Linked DNA regions of Homo sapiens: regions 1, 2, 3, 5, 6 and 7 are each linked to region 4. Evidence: promoter capture Hi-C in 16 types of primary human blood cells and fetal thymus (Javierre and others, 2016). All regions are on one chromosome and are shown on one strand. Each heading gives the region's core, a stretch centred on a gene start or on the middle of the fragment in contact. The rest is flanking DNA. Distances are from core to core; before and after follow the strand shown.

Region 1 (2,700 bases), core at 192-2,691, 300 kb before region 4:
GTTGACTTCCTGTCATAACAAGTGAAAACTTAGCTTCCTCACTCCACCGTGACCTTATTTTCTTCCCTCTATTTCTCCCATATATATCACATTTTTAATTAAATCAGTAATTGATGTTTACATTGTTATGATTATACAGATATTATTCACTGCTGAGTCATATATTATTCTCACTGTCTTCTCCTTGTACATCCTTTGTTTCTCTTAAATATTTCTGAAATCTGGGCGTGTCTGCACGTCTCTTCCTAGCCTCCACTAGCTCACACAGCCAAATGCAGTAGTAACCCTTGGCTGGTCTCCTTGCTTTCATGTCTTTTTTTTTGTGTGTGTGGAATTAATTTCCTGACTATATTCATTTGGCTGTTTTCTAACAGCTATTTTTCCCCCCAAATGTTGTAGCATTTGCCACATGCCTATCAAAAATGTTTTCCATCTACTAAAACACATCTGTTCCATTTTTCTCTTGGAGACAGCTTTCCTCAGCCTTTTGTCATCCTCTTCAAATATAGACGGGTTTTTCCTAAGACTGTTCTGTGCCTGTTTTCCTGGGATATCTCTCTGAAGTCATCTGGGATCTCACATAACTGTCCTTTTGTGTTGGGTCCCCTAAATCCTAGATTCTGTGTTTCCCTCTATCTTGTTATCCTTCCTAGTTTTACCGGAGTACATTTTCCTGGGAAAGGGCCCATAGACAGACATATTTAGAGATCTAGCCTGTCTGAAAACCTCCCCTATTTCTTTCTCTCTCTCTCTTTTTTTTTTTTTTTTGAGACAAAGTCTTGCTCTTGTCCCCCAGGCTGGAGTGCAGTGGTGCGATCTCAGCTCACTGCAACCTCTGCCTCCCGGGTTCAAGCGATTCTCCTGTGTCAGCCTCCCAAGTAGCTGGTATTACAGGCGCCTGCCACCACGCCCAGCTAATTTTTGTATTTTTAATAGAGACGGGGTTTCACCATGTTGGCCAGGCTGGTCTCGAACTCCTGACCTCAGGTGATCTGCCCGCCTTGGCCTCCCAAAGTGGGGATTACAGGCATGAGCCACTGCACCTGGCCTTTTTTTTTTTTTTTCTTTTTTTCTCTTTTTTGAGACAGGGTCTCACTCTGTTGCCCAAGCTGGAGGGCAGTGGTGTGGTCTTGGCTTACTGCATCCTTAACCTACTGGGCTCAAGTGATCCTCCCATCTCAGCCTTCCGAGTAACTGGGACTACAGGCATGTGCCACTATGTCCAGCTAATTTTTGTATTTTTCATAGAGATGGGGTTTTGCCCTGTTGCTCAGGCTGGTCTCAAACTCCTGGCCTCAAGCCATCCACCTGCATCAGCCTTTCAAAGTGTTGGGGTTACAGGTGTGAGCCACTGCACCTAGCCAAAGCTTCCTATTTCATAAGAGTATAAAATGCTAGGTTCACTCTAAATTTCATAGTTCTGAAGACATTTCTCTATTATGTTCTCATTATAGTATTCTTGAATCTGTTGCCATTGTGTGATACAGTTCATGTAACCAGTTTTTACATGTCTCCGGAAGCTTTTTAGTGCCTTCTGTATCCCTGAGATCCTGAAATTGCTTAATATGGCTTGCTATGGACCTTTTCTTTTTTCCTTTTTTTTGAGACGGAGTCTTGCTCTGTTGCCAGGCTTGAGTGCAGTGGCGTGATCTCAGCTCACTGCAATCCCCACCTCCCAAGTTCAAGCAATTCTCCTGCCTTAGCCTCCCAAGTAGCTGGGACTACAGGGGCGTGCCACCAAGCCTGACTAATTTTTTTGTATTTTTAGTAAAGAAGGGATTTTACCATGTTGGCCAGGATGGTCTTGATCTCCTGACCTTGTGATCTGCCCGCCTCGGCGTCCCAAAGTGTTGGGATTACAGGCATGAGCCACCGCACCCGGCCTAGACCTTTTCTTTTTATTGGGACCAATAAGTCTGTAGACTATGTCTTCTAGAGAATTTTGTTTTCTTTGTTCCTTCTTTTTCCTGATATTCTTACTATTCAGATGCTGAGCTTATTAGACCAGTGTTTCTGCATTGATCTTTACTTGTCTCCGCCCCCCCCCGCCCCCACCCCACCCCCCCCACCCCCCCGCACTCTCCCATTTTCTAGTTAGTCTTTTGTTCTACTTCTTGGGCATTCTTTTACTTTATGCTCTAACCATTCTATTGAATCTTTCATCTTTTTGAAGGTATTTTAAGAATTTTTTTAAGTTTTCATTTGCTCCTGAATTTTCACCACTCCCATGCATTCCTTTTTCCTATTGTTTTGCTCTCTCTTGTTGGAGGCTTCCCTCACGTGTGATAGTCTCTGGCTTTCTCTAATTGGAAGCAGGACTTTTGTTAACTGATGATTCTTACTGCAAGGACATTGGAGGCCAAGCTAGCCTTTAATTTAGAAGACCTCAGTCTGTTATCTGGTGGGTCTTGTCTTGTCTTTTCTCTCTTCTTTTTTATCTCCTTTCCTTTCCTTTCCTCCTTCCTTTCCCCTTTCCTTTCTCCTGTCCTATCCTTTCCTTTGCTTTTCTTTCTGAGAGAGTCTCATTCTGTCATCCATACTGGAGTGCAGTGGCGTGATCTCAGCGCCCTCTGCCAAGATGCAACCTCTTCCTCCCGAGTTCAAGTGATTCTTGTGCCTCGGTCTCTTGAGTGGCTGAGATTACAGGTGTGTGCCACCACGCCTGGCTAATTTTTTTTTTTTTAGTAGAGACAGGGTTTT
Region 2 (2,700 bases), core at 59-2,558, 450 kb before region 4:
GTGGATCATGAGGTCAGGAGTTCAAGACCAGCCTGCCCAACATGGTGAAACCCTGCCTCCACTAAAAATACAAAAATTAGCCGGGCATAGTGGCGGACGCCTGTAATCCCAGCTACTCGGGAGGCTGAGACAGGAGAATTGCTTGAACCCAGGAGGCGGAGCTGGCAGTGAGCTGAGATCACACCACTGCACTCCAGCCTGGGTGGCAGAGCAAGATTCCGTCTCAAAAAAAAAAAAAAAAAAGAGAGATTAATACTTTGAAATTTTTAAAGCTTTGTTCATTATTTTTATCCTGTGTCCTCTCTGTATATGTACACATGGCTTTGGCTTTGATGGAACTGATTTAACATTATATTCTTGATTTTCATTAAGAGCAATATAATAAATACATATACAGCAACATTTATATTTCTTAACTTATAAAATGAACATATGGTTGTCAGAATTCACCATAGATATATAAACACACATAGTTATATATTTTGTTTAATAGCTGCATTGTGTTTCACTGTGTAAATACAGCACTTATTTAAACATTCTCCTGCTGATGAACATTTAGGACATTTCTATTGTTTCAAACAGTGCTACATAAATATCCTAAGAGTGGAATTATCGACCATCCTGGCTAACACGGTGAAAACCCGTCTCTACTAAAAATACAAAAAATTAGCCGAGCGAGGTGGCGGGCACCTGTAGTCCCAGCTACTCGGGAGGCTGAGGCAGGAGAATGGTGTGAACCCAGAGGGCGGAGCCTGCAGTGAGCCGAGATAGCGCCACTGCATTCCAGCCTGGGCAACAGCGAGACTCCATCTCAAAAAAAAAAAAAAGAGTGGAATTATCAAATTAAAGCATATCCTCCGCAAGTACCCTTCCAGGTGGAGGCATGAATTTCCACTCCTTCCTTAAATTGGTTATTTTATTAAATTCATGCTGTTACTAGATTTATCTGTTACTTATTAGTTCAGTGTCCCAGATAGTAAAATCTTATTAGTGATTCTGCTCTTAGATAGAAAATGTGTATCTGTCATTTTGAACTTGAATTTTTTTGTTTCAGTAAATAAAACTATGACTCATGATGTTTCCCTCTTTATTCTGGCAACTCAGATTCTTAGCTAACTTTCTGTTTAATTGTATTCTTTTCTTAGTCTAGATTTTCTTCTACAATTGTTTTATATAACTAAGGATACATCCGTTACTTGACTTCTGTCTTTTTATTTTTGTTTTAATGAATTGTGTTTTATTGAAAGCTATCTCAAATCTTTTTGGAATAATAAAGTGTATACATAAACATTATAGAGAAAAACTGTGTTCAGTAGGATTAGACTTCAGTTTCCAAAGTATTTTCATATACATGACCTCATTTGATATTTACAACAATTGTACTTAGTGGCTAGAACCCAGATGCTTTTGTTTTTAGAGAAGAGAGAACAGAATCAAATAACAGTTTAGTGATGGCTGGGCACAGTGGCTCACGTCTGTGATCCCAACACTTGGGGAGGCCAAAGTGGGAGGACTGCTTGAGGCCAGGAGTTCAAGATCAGCCTGGGCAACATAGCAAAACCCTGTCTCTACAAAAAAATGTCTTTAGAAAATTAGTAGGGCCTGATGTCCTGTGCTAGCTACTTGGGAGGCTGAGGCAGGAGGATCACTTGAGCCCACCAGTTGGAGGCTACAGTGAGCTGTGATCTTGCCACTGCACTCCAGCCTGGAAGACAGAACAAGACCCTGTCTCAAAAGAAAAAAATTAAAACAAAAAACTGTTCAGTGATGGAACTCAAACTACAACCCAGTCTTGTCATATATGGTTTACTATTTCTTTCTTCTTCCCACCTTGAATTCACTGCTCTGTAGCCAAGAAGAAAGTGGTATGTTAAATACAGTAGGATTCACTCATTAACTCTAAATGAGAAATTGTGATTTGTTTCTGTTAACCTTCTGATTCTTTCAAGTAATCATGCAAAATTAATCTTAGAATAGTTCTTACTCATTTTTCTCCCTGCCTAAGATAAGTAAAACTTCTGGGATTAGCTAAACTAGATCCAGTGTATATGCCAGCATTTTAATTTTCACAAGTGTCATTTTGCTAAACTAATCACACTGTAGCCATTAACTCTTCTTACTTCTTGATGAGGCAGTAATCAATTTTCCATGTACAGATGTCTCAGGATGTTATTTCCCATAGCTGGTGGATAACTGATCCCAAACTAATTCCCTTCTAATGGACAGTAACATGCTTAATCAGACATGTTGACTTTCCTGCATTGTTTACTTTTTTCTTACTCAGTTAAAATCAGTTTTGTAGTTTTATATGTGATATTGTGATTTTTGGTCCTTCTCTTTCTGAAAAGCTTGACCCCTACAGGGAGAATTGTCTAGAGAGGATATTGCCACCTATCTAAAAATGCTTCTTCCAAATAAATCATCTAATTTTTAAATTAAATTTTTCTATGTACTGTAGCATAAAGGTGATTTAGTTTTTCATAAAGTGAAATATCTACTAGTATGAGCAAAAGTTGACTGATTTATTGTTTAACAAATGAATGACAGGTGTGGCTAATTAGGGCATAAACAACAAAGGGTTCTATATGAGAATGCTTGGATATGTATTAAATAATTTAGAAATGACAGTTAAAGTTTTTTTTCTAAATGATGATCTTGAGCTCTGATTTTAAAATTCCATGAGAGACTGTTGATAATTAA
Region 3 (2,700 bases), core at 147-2,646, 500 kb before region 4:
TTTCAAGGAGCCCACTCCTTTGACTAGAAAGAGTGACAAAGTACCTTGGAGGCCAGTCAGCCTAAATCTTGTATTATGCATGAAACAGCAACAGGGTTGATGCCAGAAGAAAGTGCTTGGTTACGAAGGTGCTTTTAGAATGGCAGAATTACCGTGATGGAGTCATAGTTATTTTGCTTTCTTTTCAAGGTAAAGTTCTTCTCCCCTTTTCATTCTGTAAGCAGGCAGTGGAACACAATGGTTAAGAGTTCAGGCTCTAAAGCCTGTCAGAATGTGCCTGGGTTCACATTCTGACTCTGACACTCACTGGCTCTAAGACCACAGACACGTTTCTTCTCTGGTTTCAGTTTACTCATCTGTAAAATGTTCCTAATATTAATATTTCCCTCACTGGGTTGTTGTGAGGATTAAATTAGGTAATATATCAAAAGGTGTTTAGAACAGTGCCAGCACAAAGCAAGCACTCAATACATCTTTTTTTTTTTTTTTTTCCTGAGACAGAGTCTCACTCTGTCGCCCAGGCTGGAGTGCAAGTGGTACGATCTCGGCTCAGTGCAACCTTCGCCTCCCGGGTGAAGTGATCCTCCTGCCTCAGCCTTCCAAGTAGCTGCGGACTGCAAGCACGTGCCACCACGCCCAGCTAATTTTTGTATTTTCAGTAGAGACGGGGTTTCACCATGTTGGCCAGGCTGGTCTCGAACTCTTGACCTCATGATCTGGCCGCCTCAGCCTCCCAAAGTGCTGAGATTACAGGCTTGAGCCACCATACCCAGCCAATAAATCTTTGCTTGTTACTGTTCCTGGTTTTAGTGCCAGCCACTGGACTTTTTGCAATTTCTAAGATAATAAGAGACCACCTGACATGTTTACATGGTATTGCTTTCAGTTGCAGAGAAGATGGAGCATGCAGCAGCACTAGTATCCTACCATTTGGCCCTTGAAATGCTAATTACAAGCTACCAGAATCTTGCTGATCAGTTCTCCAGTTCCGACTCTGTGACATGGGAAGACCAGAAAGCTTCAAAGAGGTCTTCGTCTCTTTAAGGTTATAAGGAACCCAGACAGAAATGGCAGAGTGTAGCCACATAGAAATTGGGCACCACAAGAAGCTGTTAGCTTGGTGGAGCCACCATGATTCAGGCTGTAATACAGAAGCTCAATATTTATAGATGCACCTACAGGTGATCAGTCTAAGAAAGACCTGCTTATGCTAATCCAGGAGATTACATCCAAAATTTCAATTGCATTCATTCAACAAATATTTGAGTCCCAGCTGTGTACCAGGTACTCTTCTAGATGTTAAGGATACAGCAGCGAAAAAAAAAGGGACAAAAGTCCCTGCCCTAGAGGGGGCAGACAATAAACACAATAAATAAGTTAATATATAGCACAGAGAAAGTGATATGTGCAATGGAGAAAAATAAGTAGTAAAGGAAAATAGGGAGAGCAAAAGAGCAAAGAGGTGGTTGTTCGGTGATCAATTTCCACCAGAGTAGTAAGGAAAGGCCTCACAGAAACAGGAGCATTTGAGCAAAGACATGAGGAGTCAAGGAAGACATGGATATCTGGGAGAAGCATTCAGAGCAGAGGAAATAGCAAGGGCAAAGTCTCTTGGGAGAAAGTGTGTTCAAAGTGTTTGAGAAACAGCAAGGAGGCCGCCAATGTGACTGAACAGAGAATGGAGGGGAATAACAGAAGGAACTAAGACCAGAGAGGTAAGGGGGTGTACAGGGACTAATTGTAAAAATAAGTGCTTTTACTCTGAGTGAGATAGGAAGCTTTTAGAAAGTTTTGAACAGTCTTAATATGGTCTGCTCTATATTTTAAAGGTATCACTCTGGCTGCTGTGTTGAGAATAGAATGAATGTTAAGGGTAGCTAATACAAAATTCTAGTCAATGATGACAGTAGTTTGGACCAAGCTGCTATCAGTGGAGTTGGGGAGAGTGGTCATATATTTTGAAGAGAGAGCAATAGGCTTTGATGACAAACTGAATGTGGGATATAAAAGAGTTGCTGAGTTGGCCTCAGCAATCAAATGATGGAGTTGCCAATAACTGAGATAAAGAAGGTTGTAGGTAGAGAAAGTTTTTGAGGGGAAGGGGTATGCTGAGTTTTGTTTTGGATATGATCAAATGAAGAGGTCTATTAAATATACAAGTAAAGATGCTGAGGTACTTGGAATACAAGTTTGGGTTTAAGACTTGGGAGTTGTGAGCATATTTACATGTAAAGACAGAAGACTGAATGAGAGCACTATAGGAAAGGGGGTAGGAACAGAAGAAAAAAATTCCAAGGCAGAGGCCTGGGACACTCCAATATTAAGAGGTCATGAGCAGGAGTTTGAGAACAGTGACTAGTAGTGTAGGACTAAAACCAGGAGACTGAAGTATCCTATAAACTAAGTGGAGAAAGTGTTAAAGGGAGGAGGGAGTAATCAACTATGGCAAATGCTGATAGGTCAAGGATAGAGACAAAGAACTGGCTATTGGATTAACTAACAAAATAACAAAGTAATTGGAGAGTAATTTCAGTGGAATGCTGGGGGCAAGAGGTAGTTAAAATAGTTTTAATAGAAAACAGGAGAAAAGGAATTGGGGCAGTGAATATAGAACTCTTTCAAGGATTTTATAGTAAAGGAGAACAAAAACAAATGGGACAGTAGCTGGAAGGGGAAGTAAAAGCCAAAATTTTTTTTGTT
Region 4 (2,700 bases), core at 57-2,556:
TATTCCCATTCTACAGATTAGGAAACAGAAGCGCTAAGTAAACTGCCCAAGATTACACAACTAGGAAGTGACCAAGCAGGAATTCAAACTGAAGTAGTCTGGCTTTATAGTTTTTGCTATAAACCATGACATTGTAAAAATATTCATTGTAAAGAAAAACTCATCAGGAATTAGTATCATTTCTTCTATGTATATCTATCTATTGTAGGTGCAATTTAACCTAATATTCATCTCCTGTCTAAAAGACTATGTGACCAAGGTTACAAATGTCTACTGATATTTTTAGAGACTAGATATATAGCCCAGCTTTTGTTAAGGCATTTTCTTGAAGTCAGTCAGTCAAAAACTGCCTTGTATTTTAAGTATGCCAATTATAATTTACATGTAGTATTTTATAATAAAATACTTTATAAATACAAATCACAACTCACTACGATTACTTAAAATATAGAGAAAAAAATTCAGCTGTTTCTCTCTGGTCCCTTCCAAGGAAGAAAAAAGAAGAGAGAAATAAACTTCTAAATAAGTTTACAACAGCATGGCTCAATCTCAGTTTAACCTGGTAAATTCAAATTTGTCTTGCTTTGCAAGGTATACATCCAGACCAGTCTCAATTTGTCATCCAAATATATATCTCAGTAGTAATTTATTTTTGTTTAAGGGATGAGTGTGAGATTTTCTTATCTTGATTTTTTAGCTTAATAATTCTTTCCTACAAGACCAAACCATGCTTGTCATCAGTCATGTGGTGTCATTTACTATACATTAAAAACGGACAGAGTCGACAGAAAGAACAATCGTTTTCTGGAAGCCCCAGCCTGATGTAGGTTAAAAGCTCTGCTGGGGTTTGGTTTTATAATCCCCAGGCGGGGATGGCAGGGATACTAATAACGCACTCAACAAGATCACCTACTATTTCAACTACTTTCTCCTCCTATTACATACCTGATTCACAAAAATAAGCAGACAATGCATCATGTAATCTCCCCTCACCCATTAGCCATTGCAGTGTGGTACAATCTCCAGCACGTAATAAAAACCTGAGCATGCAAGAAACAGCAAAATCACTGCTATCCCTGGGAGCTGCTCGGATATTTACAATGCAGTCGTCCCCACCCCATCCCCCAAACTGGCCGGCCAGGCAGCACAGAAGCAGACGGATGCTCACCTGGGCCCCGGCTGCTACTCTCCATTCACCTGCGGGGCCTTCAGTCCGCTCCTGGAGGGGCTTGACTCCCGCAGCCTGCCGCCCGCCTCACGGTGACAGCCCGCCCGGGCGCTGACCATCCCGGCCCGGCTCTGTTTACAAGCGGCTTCTCGCGGTCCCACTCTGAAATGCTTCCGCCGGCGGCCCGGGCAGCCAGAGCCGGACACACAAGGTTCCAGGCCGCGAGGACGAGTCTTTCCTGCCCGAGGGACCCGGCAGCTAGGCAAGGCCTGACCGCACCCGCCAGGCCTCCTTATTTCTTTGCTTTCTTATATACAGTTCCTCTTGTACACATTGTGAAAGCAATGGCGTGTGTCGTGGAGTCTCCTCACTGCTCCACCCAACGCCAAAATGGGTGTTTGCGATTGGAAAATGTCACTTAGAACATGTCAGGATCGGGCTGGTTTTTAGCAGCTCCCTTGTCTAAGGGAATTAATTACTCAAATAAGTTCTTTCCAAAAGTGGGACTATTCTGGAGATTGCTTCTCATTTCCGGTTTTGGGGCTGCAGTGAAAATCCGTTTTCACTGTCCTTTCCTACGCAGGTTGAAAAGGGGTGGTTTTGAGGTGAGGTCTTCACCCCCACTTGCGGATTCCCAGCAAAATAGGGTGTGCGTGTGTGTGCACGCGGGCAGGACTGCCTGGTAAGACCGCCCACATCCCACCTGCAGTGACTGTGGTCGCTTTGCAGGGATATGCTGGTCTGATTGGACAGACCTTCCTTGCAGTTTCCTGTCTGTTTTCCATCATAGCACACTTCTTAGCCATTTTCTCACTTTATAAGTACACACTTATTTATCAGTTTTATTGGTTTTCCCACGCTCACCCATCTCACCTATAAACTCCCTGAGGGCAGGCACTATTTCAGTTTCACTCACCACCATCTAGTAGGCACCTAGCACAGGCCCAATGTATATATATCTGAATAAATGAATGAACAAAGGAATGATAAAAAAAAAAAAAGGTCAAAGGGGTCAGGGATGAAACAGAAATCTAAAACTCTGATTCCTCTTCCCACCTTCCCACCCTCCAGAAGATTAATAAGCAAATCTTTAAGCTTTGAGTTAAGAAAAAATTTCCTTTGGTTGATATTCAAAGTTTAAATAAGCTTTCTTTAAACCCTGCAATTTGAGGTACTTTTTTTTCTGTTTTGCTAGAGACAGGATCTCACTCTGTGCCCCGGCCAGAGTGCAGTCGCACGATCATAGCTCACTGCAGCCCTGAACTCCTGGGTTCAAGGGATCCCCCCAACTCAGCCTCCTGAGTAGCTAGGACTACAGGCACGCATCACCACAACGTGGCTAACTTCTTTTTTCTTTCTTTCTCTTTTTTTTTTTTTTGTAAAGGCAAGGTCTCCCTGTGTTGCCCAGGATGATCCTGAACTCCTGGCCTCAGGCAATCCTTCTTCCTTGCCTTCCAAAGTGCTGGGATTACAGGTGTGAGCCACCTCACCTGGCCAGAGGTACATTTTTTGTTTTGTTTTGTTTTAATTAC
Region 5 (2,745 bases), core at 81-2,580, 310 kb before region 4:
TGATCAGAAAATAAAGGTAGAAATCAAGCTTAGGGAGGAAGTGACATTGTGTGTATATATATATATTTGTTTATTTATTTTTATTTTTATGTTTTATTTTTTTGAAACGGAGCCTAGGTCGCCCAGGCTGGAGTGCAATGGCGCGATCTCGGCTTACGGCAACCTCTGCCTCCCGGGTTCAAGTGATTCTCCTGCCTCAGCCTCCCGAGTAGCTGGGAATACGGGCGCGTGCCACCATGCCCGGCTAATTTTTTGTATTTTTAGTAGAGACGGGATTTCACCGTGTTAGCCAGGATGGTCTGGATCTCCTGACCTGGTGATCCGCCCGCCTCGGCCTCCCAAAGTGTTGGGATTACAGGCATGAGCCACCGCGCCCGGCCGGGATTGTTTTTAAGGGTTAAATAAATATACCACAGTTGGAACACTGTCTGGCACATAGTGCTTGCCAAATGGTAACTATTCATCTTCATGGAATCAAGACTGTGGTGCCCCACTGCATGGTTCTCAGTTTTGCGTGAGAAAATCGTGCTTTCTGTGCTGTTTTTAGTACAAGAAGAGAAACCTGGAAGTCCCTGCCTAGAGGAGAGAAACAGGCAAGAAAAGGGAGTTGGCGAGTCCCAGCATTTCAGAGTTGGCAGGGACGAGTTAGGTCCCTATTTTATGGATGAGGAAGTGGAAGGGTGACGTGTCCTCGAGTCTCATTCAAGACCCACAGCCACAACTCTTTATGGAGAGTAGGACCAGGGCCCCAGGGTTGCTATGATCACGTTGCAGGTGAAAACTAACGCTCATTGGAAGACAGGAGCGGAGCACTGAGTTACAAAAACAGTTAACAATTTGGGTGTAACCAAGTTTAGTGAGCAAACGAAAGCTGTCAGACTCGGAAGAAGAGTTGCTAATGGAGCGAACTCTTTACTAATAACGGCTTTCTACAGAGATCATTGACACAGCTTCCAGTTACAAATGCCCGTGCGCTTCCAGTAGGACCGGAAAGCTCCCAGCAGCCAGCGATGAATGAAAACCCGAGTCTGGGATAGCGGCGTGAGGGGCTGGGCAGCTGCCAGGCGGGGGCGGGGCAGCAGGTCACGTGCCTGGCTTCGAGGCGGGCGCCGGAGGGGGAACTCTGACCATGATTGGTTCCTCCTAACCAGGTGACCGCAGGTCGCGTTCCGGTTGGCAGGCACCGGCCAGGGCCAGCGGCCTTCAGTCGGTAGGCGGCGGCGGAAGGAGGAGGAGCTCCAGCCGCGCTCTCTCCCGGCAGTGGCTGTGCTTCACAGCGCTTGTTGGGTTCCCCACCCCTTTTAAATAAGCCGGGCTGGTCACCGCCCTCGCAGACGAGTCAGCTTAAGGGAGGCGGCGGCAGCGCGGCGGTGGGGGTGCGGCCGAGGCCCGAGCCCTGCCCGGGGCCGGGCCGCGGGGCGGGCGGGCGAACCGCGGGCGAGGCGGCGTCTGCTTGCGCGGTGCAGCCCCAGCGTAGCCCGGGGCTGCCGGTGCCGGCCGCGCCATTGTTGGGGGAGGGGGCGGCTGTTGAGGGCGGCGGAGTAGGGGGCGAGCGAAGGCGGTGGCAGAGAGGAGCGGAGGCTTCCCATGGGGAACACGCTGACCTGTTGCGTGTCCCCCAATGCCAGCCCCAAGCTGGGCCGGCGCGCGGGGTCGGCGGAGCTGTACTGCGCGTCCGACATCTACGAGGCGGTGTCCGGGGACGCGGTGGCGGTAGCGCCCGCTGTGGTGGAGCCTGCCGAGTTGGATTTCGGAGAGGGCGAGGGCCACCACCTGCAGCACATCAGCGACCGCGAGATGCCCGAAGGTAAGGAGGCGGCGGATGCCATCCGCCCTCGGGCTCACCTCTGCCCGCCTCCTCCCCCAGAGTCCCCCGGGAGGCATCCGCCGCCTCGGGCTCCTTCCTGCCGGTAGCCGGCCCCGGGACGAAGGCTGGTTCTGCCTCGCGTCCCCACCCCTTATTCTTGCCCTGCTGCGTCTGGCCAGTTTCTTTTCCTCCTCCTTACCGTAACGCCCAGTTCTTGCTCCCGCTTCCCATTCTCCCAAGCCGGCGTGGGACCCTCTAGTCCGCCGCCCTTCTTGTTTGTAGCTCTGTTCATTGTCTGGTGGGACTTTGCTAAGACTTTTGGGGTATATTGTTTTCCTTTTCTCAATGGAAACTCAAATACCTCAACTTCGGAGTACTCATCCCATTCCCTCCCTTAACCCATCCAGATGGTACCTAAGTGAAGGAACCAGGTAAGGGTCTGATTGTTCCTTCCTCCCATCCGTGAAGATAGCTGATGCCCGCGACAGTTTAGACCCAGATGTTTGAGGATTTCTTATCTAGACTCAAAATAGAGGTTGCCATAGGAGACACTATATGGTATTCCTAATAGGTTAAGTCGGCGTGAAAGAAGCTGCTTTATTCCTTCCAACTATAATTTGAACACAGAAAGAAAGAAAATGGGGGGAGGGGCGTAAAATGACTGTGAAGGGTGTGAGAGGTTATTACCAGGGGTGCAGACAAGTTGTTTTTTTGAGACGGAATCTCGTTTTGTCGCCCGCCCAGGCTGGAGTGCAGTGGCGCGATCTCGGCTCGCTGCAACCTCCGCCTCTCGGTTTCAAGCGATTCCTCTGCCTCAGCCTCCCGAGTAGCTGGGATTACAGGCGTGCGCCACCACGCCCAGCTAATTTTTGAATTTTTAGTAGAGACGGGGTTTCACCATGTTGGTCAGGCTGGTCTCTAACTCCAGAGTTCTTGAT
Region 6 (2,707 bases), core at 63-2,562, 430 kb before region 4:
CTTAGTAAAATGCTGATCAGTAAACCAATCCCTTGAGTTATATAACAAGATTTTTAAATAAATGTTATTGTCCTCACCTTCAAAAATATTTATATTGTCACTCATTTACGTAAAAAGATATTTCTAATTTACTGTTGCCCATTGCACTTACATACCACCACCAAGAAAGCCTTCAAGATGTCAAATAAAGCAAAGTGATATATATTTGTTTATGAAATGTTACATGTAGAAAAATACTGATTTTAAATATTTTCCATATTAACAATTTAACAGAGAATCTCTAGTGAATTTTTTAAATGAAAGAAGTTGTAAGGATATAAAAAGTACAGTGTTAGATGTGCACAAGGAAAGTTATTTTCAGACATATTTGAATGACTGCTGTACTGCAATATTTGGATTGTCATTCTTACAAAACATTTTTTTGTTCTCTTGTAAAAAGAGTAGTTATTAGTTCTGCTTTAGCTTTCCAATATGCTGTATAGCCTTTGTCATTTTATAATTTTAATTCCTGATTAAAACAGTCTGTATTTGTGTATATCATACATTGTTTTCAATACCACTTTTAATTGTTACTCATTTTATTCACTAAGCTCGATAAATCTAACAGTTACTCTTAAAAAAAAAAAAAAAAGACTAAGGTGGATTTTAAAAATTGGAAACTGACATAATGTTAGGTTATAATTTCTCATTTGGAGCCGGGCGCAGTGGCTCACGCCTGTAATCCCAGCACTTTGGGAGGCCAAGGTGGGTGGATCACCTGTGGTCAAGAGTTCAAGACCAGCCTGGCCATCATGGTGAAACCCCATCTCTACTAAAAATACAAAAATTAGCCAGGCGTGGTGGCTGGCGCCTGTAATCCCAGCTACTCAGGAGGTTGAGGCAGCAGAATTGCTTGAACCCAGGAGGCAGAGGGTTGCAGTGAGCCGAGATAGCACCATTGCACTCCAGCCTGGGCGACTCCATCTCAAAAAATAAAAATAAAAAAAATGTCTCATTTGGGAAGGAAATTCCTTTTAAAAAAGAGTTGAGACACTTAGAAAACTAATGTTTTATATTTAGTCAAGAGTTATTTAAGAAAGTCAAGCTTGTTTAACAACAAAATATGAAGATTTAAGTGTTAATTGCTGGATCCATTTTAAAATAAGATTTTAATTAACATTTGTAAATGGTATATTTTCGTTTGTAACAAACCATTGTCTTTTTTCAAGGATGAACAGAGTTTATGAAGGAGCATCATTCTAAGAATTAAGTGATGTAGTCTTTATGTTTGGACAGTTCACCAGATTCTCAAGAAGGCTTTCAAACAACTATAAAGTTTGATGTTTGTCCTGCTGAGCTAATGGGGAAAGTTATAGCATAAAAATTGTGTAACCGCATAGATATGTCATTTTTAAAAACTGGTTTAACAGAAATCAAGCAAAGTCACAAATATGTTCACAAGTTGGAATTATTTATTGAGTCAAAATGTCGAATCGAACATTTTGAATGAAGTAAGTGTTATAAATGAAAAATTGCCTGATGTTTAGCAGTTTGTATTCTCTAAAGCTTTTTTTCAAAAGTTCAGGCTTTCTACTTACTGGGAAGTTGGTGGTCCTCTTAGTCCCTGATAAATCAAGGCAATCACATTCATGTGAGCTGGATGAATTTATAAGTTATAAAGACCTTATCCTTCATACCTTGAGGATGATTGCACTGGTTTTGAAGTCAGTTGCTTAATGATGAGGTGAGAAATGTATCCTGTTGCTAAATCTGTCTTAGACCCTTGGTGAAACTTGAAGATTTCAGTTTATAAAGATAAAATCAAGCATCTTTTGTGCAGTTTTCTTTTTTTAATGCAAGAATGGTGGGGAGGTTTGTTTGTAAGCATGAAACTTTGAGAATCTTTATTAAGAAAATGACATAATTTTTAAAAACCTTGTAGCCAAGAACATATGTGGCCACATTACCAGTAATAAATGTTTTTCTCTTTATATTGGCCAAAAGGGAATAAAAATGTCATCATAGGAATTTGTACATATGCTACTGATTTGCCTAGAAAATAGCAAGTTTGATATTGCTCACTTTGCAAATATAGGGCCATGTGGCACTTTTATCTATAGGACAGATTAATAAAAATGAAGTGGGGAGGGGTTTATTTTTGATATATTACTCTTATGAGTTTTCAAGCTTTGATAATGTTTAACTGAAAAGTGGCTTAGAAAGGGCTAGATCCAATGTGTTCATTATTAAATAATTGCTATCAGATACAATTTTAAGTTCATTCTTTTTCAAACTCAAGTACCATATTGGCAACCATAATATTGTCATAGGTGCTCTCTTCATTTAGATATTCTTGGGGGGGGTGGCATTTGTATAATATATGTGTACATATATATATATATATATATATATACATACAGTATATAATCTAAAGCTCTGAGAGCTCTTAAGTCAGGAATGCTGAGTATTATAGTATATTGAGGTCAGATGAAATTTTACATTTTTGTGTGTTCTGTTGCATTCCTTCTGGTAGTTTCTATGACTGCATTACTCCAGCACTCATGATTGATTTTATCTTCTAATTTTCTTCCAAGTATTTTATTTTTTATTAGTTTTCTTTGGCTTGATACTTTTAAATATGTTACTAGTCACTTGAAAGCCTCTCCCCCAAAAGTATTTGGTTTGTATGCTTTGTCTGTGGCAGCTATAACAGTGGTAAGAACATTTT
Region 7 (2,704 bases), core at 168-2,667, 390 kb before region 4:
TGCTTAGAGGAGAGTTGCTCAACTCACAGTGGATTGTGACATGAGCAAGAAATCAATCTTTGTCATGTTAACCACTGACATTTGGAATTTATTCACTATTGTAGCATATAGCCTATCTCCATTAATACACAAGGGCAGGCCATTTGAGCTGGGGAAAGGAGAGGGCTCTGAAGAGGTGACATTTAAATGGAAATTTAAAAGAGTAGAAGAAAACAGCCACTTGAAGAGCCAAGGGAATGGCATTTCAAGCAAGGGAACAGAAACTGCAAAAGCCCCCAGGCAGAAGAAACTGTCAACTGACCAGCCAGGAGCAAGGGGTAAGTGGCACAAGATAACTCTTAAGATTAAGTCAAACAGAAGAATGAAAGCTTTGAACTACCCAAACTCCACTAACAACTTACACCCTGCAGGAGAGGTATTTTTGCATCATCACTACACAACTCTCTGTGTGAGTCACAGACCCTGGGTGCCCTCAAGGGTGAGGCTGGCTGCCCTGAAGACACTACCATACAGCTAAGGAGTTGGCTTAAGGATATTCAAAAAGCCTTAAGGAATAAAGCTCCAGCTGGTGCTAAAGAAAGACAACCATAGACAGAGTCTTGGTATAACTGTGTTCACCACTGTCTTTTTTAAGTTCTTGTCTAGCTTCTCAGTATTTCCGTAAGACCTGACTGCAGAGAGAAAAAACAAGACAACTGCTCAGCGCTACCTTGAGGGAATATGCAGCATAAATAGCTACATTTGGATTTTTCATTTTGCTGATGAAATCGCATTTTTGATCACAGCTCCTGGACAACTGCAGCCATGCCTGATGCTCTTGTTCTACAACAAAATAGAAGCAGCAGCTAGGGGAGAAGTTTCCAGACTTGTGTTCTGTTGGGTTTTAGAGTCACATCTGTGGCTTTCAGCTGGAAACGGCTGGACAACTATTTGTTGAATGAATGAATGAATGAATGAATGAATGAATGTTACAATACATCACATCAAATTATTGCCCACCTCACTCCAAAAGTGTTTAAATGCGAATTCAACTTATTAGATACCTTTGAGTTAATGATGCTGAAGAATTTGTAGTTACTTTCATTATTTGTGTTTCATTAACCTAGGGTTCAATAATATTCCCAGGTATAGTACATGTTTGGGTAAGAAGCTATTGACTGTCTTATCTTTTGATGATTCCAAGAAAAGGTATGAAGCCATTTGCCTTTTCATAATTTATAGGTTAATTTGTGTGTAATTAGAAAAGCAGGTACATTTTAAGTAAGTCAAACCAAAAGACAACATCAAGAAGAGAATAGTAAATAGTCAAGTGAAAGTGCTAGCTTGTAATTCCAAGAGCTCATGTATTTGAGCAGTGCCTCTTCCCAGGTGACACAGGGCATTTTGAGTTCAGGTTTTCCTGGTGGTATGTACAGGAGTGGGAGCGGAGTTACATGCTAATGTGACCAGAGAGGATGCAGTGCTGAGGATCCAGGGCAGGATGGAGGCAGTGTCCCCGACTGGCAGCCTCCAAAAAGCCTTGACCTACAGATGTGTTTTGTGTGTCCCATGCAGACTTGGCTCTCATGGTGTTTTGTTTTTTAGTTTAGTGTCAATATTTGAAAGTAAGGAGATGTATCTTAGTCCATTTTGTGCTGCTATAGAAGAATTACCGGCTGGGCGAGGTGGCTCACGCCTGTAATCCCAACACTTTGGGAGGCCAAGGCGGGCAGATCACGAGGTCAAGAGTTTGAGACCAGCCTGACCAACATAGTGAAACCCTGTCTCTACTAAAAATACAAAAATTAGCTGGGCATAGTGGCGTGCACCTGTAATCCCAGCTACTTCGGAGGCTGGGGCAGGAGAATCACTTGAACTCAGGAGGTGGAGGTTGCAGTGAGCCAAGATCGCACCACTGTATTCCAGCCTGGGTGACAGGGCGAGACTCCATCTCAAAAAAAAAAAAAGAATTATCTAAGACTGAGTAATTTATAATGAGCAGAAATTTATTGACTTCTGGTTCTGGAGGCTAGAACGTCCAAGATCAAGGGGCTGGCATCTGGGGAGAACCTTCTTGCTGTGCTATCCCATGAAGGAAACACAAAGAAGGAGTGAGAGAGAGCAAGAGTTCAAACTTGCACCCTCAAGCCCTTTTATAATCATTATTAATCCATTCATGAGGGTGGAGCCTTATGACCTAAATACCTCCATTAGGCCCCACCTCCCAACACTGATTAAGTTTCCAATGCATGCCTTTTGGGGGAACACATTCAAACCATAGCAAGATGTCAGATAAAAATCAAGATAGTAAAATTAAGATAATTATTTGAAATGGCTTTCTTTGAAAATTTTGAAATATCTGGCAAACATGGGTCCAAATGCCCACAAGATGGCAATGAGCTAGAGCCAAGCTGGCTCTTCCTTTGGACATTATGGTCTCCCCTCAGTGTGCCGCGGTCCCCTCCCCTGCTTGTTGTCTTGTCCCCACAAGCTTCATTCATTTACTTACGATACTGTCAGGGTCTGTGACGGAGCACCAGTAAACAGCCTCTCACTTTATTTTCTCTGGGTTCTAAACAAGCTGAGAAATAAAACAACGACTAAAGCTGAAGGCAAAAACATCCCCTCTATTTACTGAGACAGAAGAAGTTGGAGGGCGAGGCTTATATCTGCAGGCAGATGGACCTACGAAGAACGAAGAACGCTAAGGTGACTCATCCAGCAC

What was found. Contacts are between HindIII fragments. The CHiCAGO score rates a contact against its expected background, and 5 or more counts as called.
Region 1: a fragment that was not itself captured here is called in contact with the fragment with the promoter of PLEKHM3 in region 4 in 3 of 17 cell types (total CD8 T cells, M1 macrophages and non-activated CD4 T cells); the score reaches 6.3 in total CD8 T cells.
Region 2: a fragment that was not itself captured here is called in contact with the fragment with the promoter of PLEKHM3 in region 4 in 1 of 17 cell types (total CD8 T cells); the score reaches 5.8 in total CD8 T cells.
Region 3: a contact is called between a fragment that was not itself captured here and the fragment with the promoter of PLEKHM3 in region 4, in 2 of 17 cell types (total CD8 T cells and naive CD8 T cells). The highest score is 6.3, in total CD8 T cells.
Region 5: the fragment with the promoter of CCNYL1 here is called in contact with the fragment with the promoter of PLEKHM3 in region 4 in 14 of 17 cell types (total CD8 T cells, fetal thymus, non-activated CD4 T cells and 11 more); the score reaches 15.0 in total CD8 T cells.
Region 6: a contact is called between a fragment that was not itself captured here and the fragment with the promoter of PLEKHM3 in region 4, in 1 of 17 cell types (total CD8 T cells). The highest score is 6.2, in total CD8 T cells.
Region 7: a fragment that was not itself captured here is called in contact with the fragment with the promoter of PLEKHM3 in region 4 in 2 of 17 cell types (total CD8 T cells and monocytes); the score reaches 8.8 in total CD8 T cells.

Annotation. Positions count from the first base shown.
Region 1 is chr2:207,727,213-207,729,912 of GRCh38, forward strand. The region is part of intron 3 of CCNYL1 (cyclin Y like 1); the gene reads left to right. Among named protein-coding and RNA genes, the nearest start is that of CCNYL1, 17 kb to the left of the region's middle. The HindIII fragment of the contact is 153 bases long and covers 1,366-1,518 here.
Region 2 is chr2:207,572,001-207,574,700 of GRCh38, forward strand. The region is part of intron 5 of CREB1 (cAMP responsive element binding protein 1); the gene reads left to right. Among named protein-coding and RNA genes, the nearest start is that of CREB1, 43 kb to the left of the region's middle. The HindIII fragment of the contact is 2,076 bases long and covers 271-2,346 here.
Region 3 is chr2:207,521,475-207,524,174 of GRCh38, forward strand. LOC124907970 (a long non-coding RNA gene) reads right to left here. Exons shown (of 3, transcript XR_007088060.1): 3 at 1-2,700. Among named protein-coding and RNA genes, the nearest start is that of CREB1, 7.1 kb to the right of the region's middle. RefSeq lists an enhancer at 50-99 and a silencer at 1,677-1,756. The HindIII fragment of the contact is 760 bases long and covers 1,017-1,776 here.
Region 4 is chr2:208,024,221-208,026,920 of GRCh38, forward strand. PLEKHM3 (pleckstrin homology domain containing M3) reads right to left here and starts at 1,307. Exons shown (of 8, transcript NM_001080475.3): 1 at 1,169-1,307. The HindIII fragment of the contact is 3,995 bases long and covers 1-2,261 here.
Region 5 is chr2:207,710,310-207,713,054 of GRCh38, forward strand. It overlaps CCNYL1 (cyclin Y like 1), which reads left to right and starts at 1,331. Exons shown (of 10, transcript NM_001330218.2): 1 at 1,331-1,807. The coding sequence starts at 1,588. RefSeq lists enhancers at 523-722, 733-782, 1,135-2,131 and silencers at 1,003-1,452, 1,873-1,982, 1,995-2,154. The HindIII fragment of the contact is 3,390 bases long and covers 27-2,745 here.
Region 6 is chr2:207,597,872-207,600,578 of GRCh38, forward strand. It overlaps CREB1 (cAMP responsive element binding protein 1), which reads left to right. Exons shown (of 8, transcript NM_004379.5): 8 at 1-2,707. It also overlaps a transcript of METTL21A not described here. Among named protein-coding and RNA genes, the nearest start is that of METTL21A, 26 kb to the right of the region's middle. The HindIII fragment of the contact is 461 bases long and covers 1,083-1,543 here.
Region 7 is chr2:207,632,923-207,635,626 of GRCh38, forward strand. No RefSeq gene overlaps it. Among named protein-coding and RNA genes, the nearest start is that of METTL21A, 8.9 kb to the left of the region's middle. The HindIII fragment of the contact is 2,102 bases long and covers 367-2,468 here.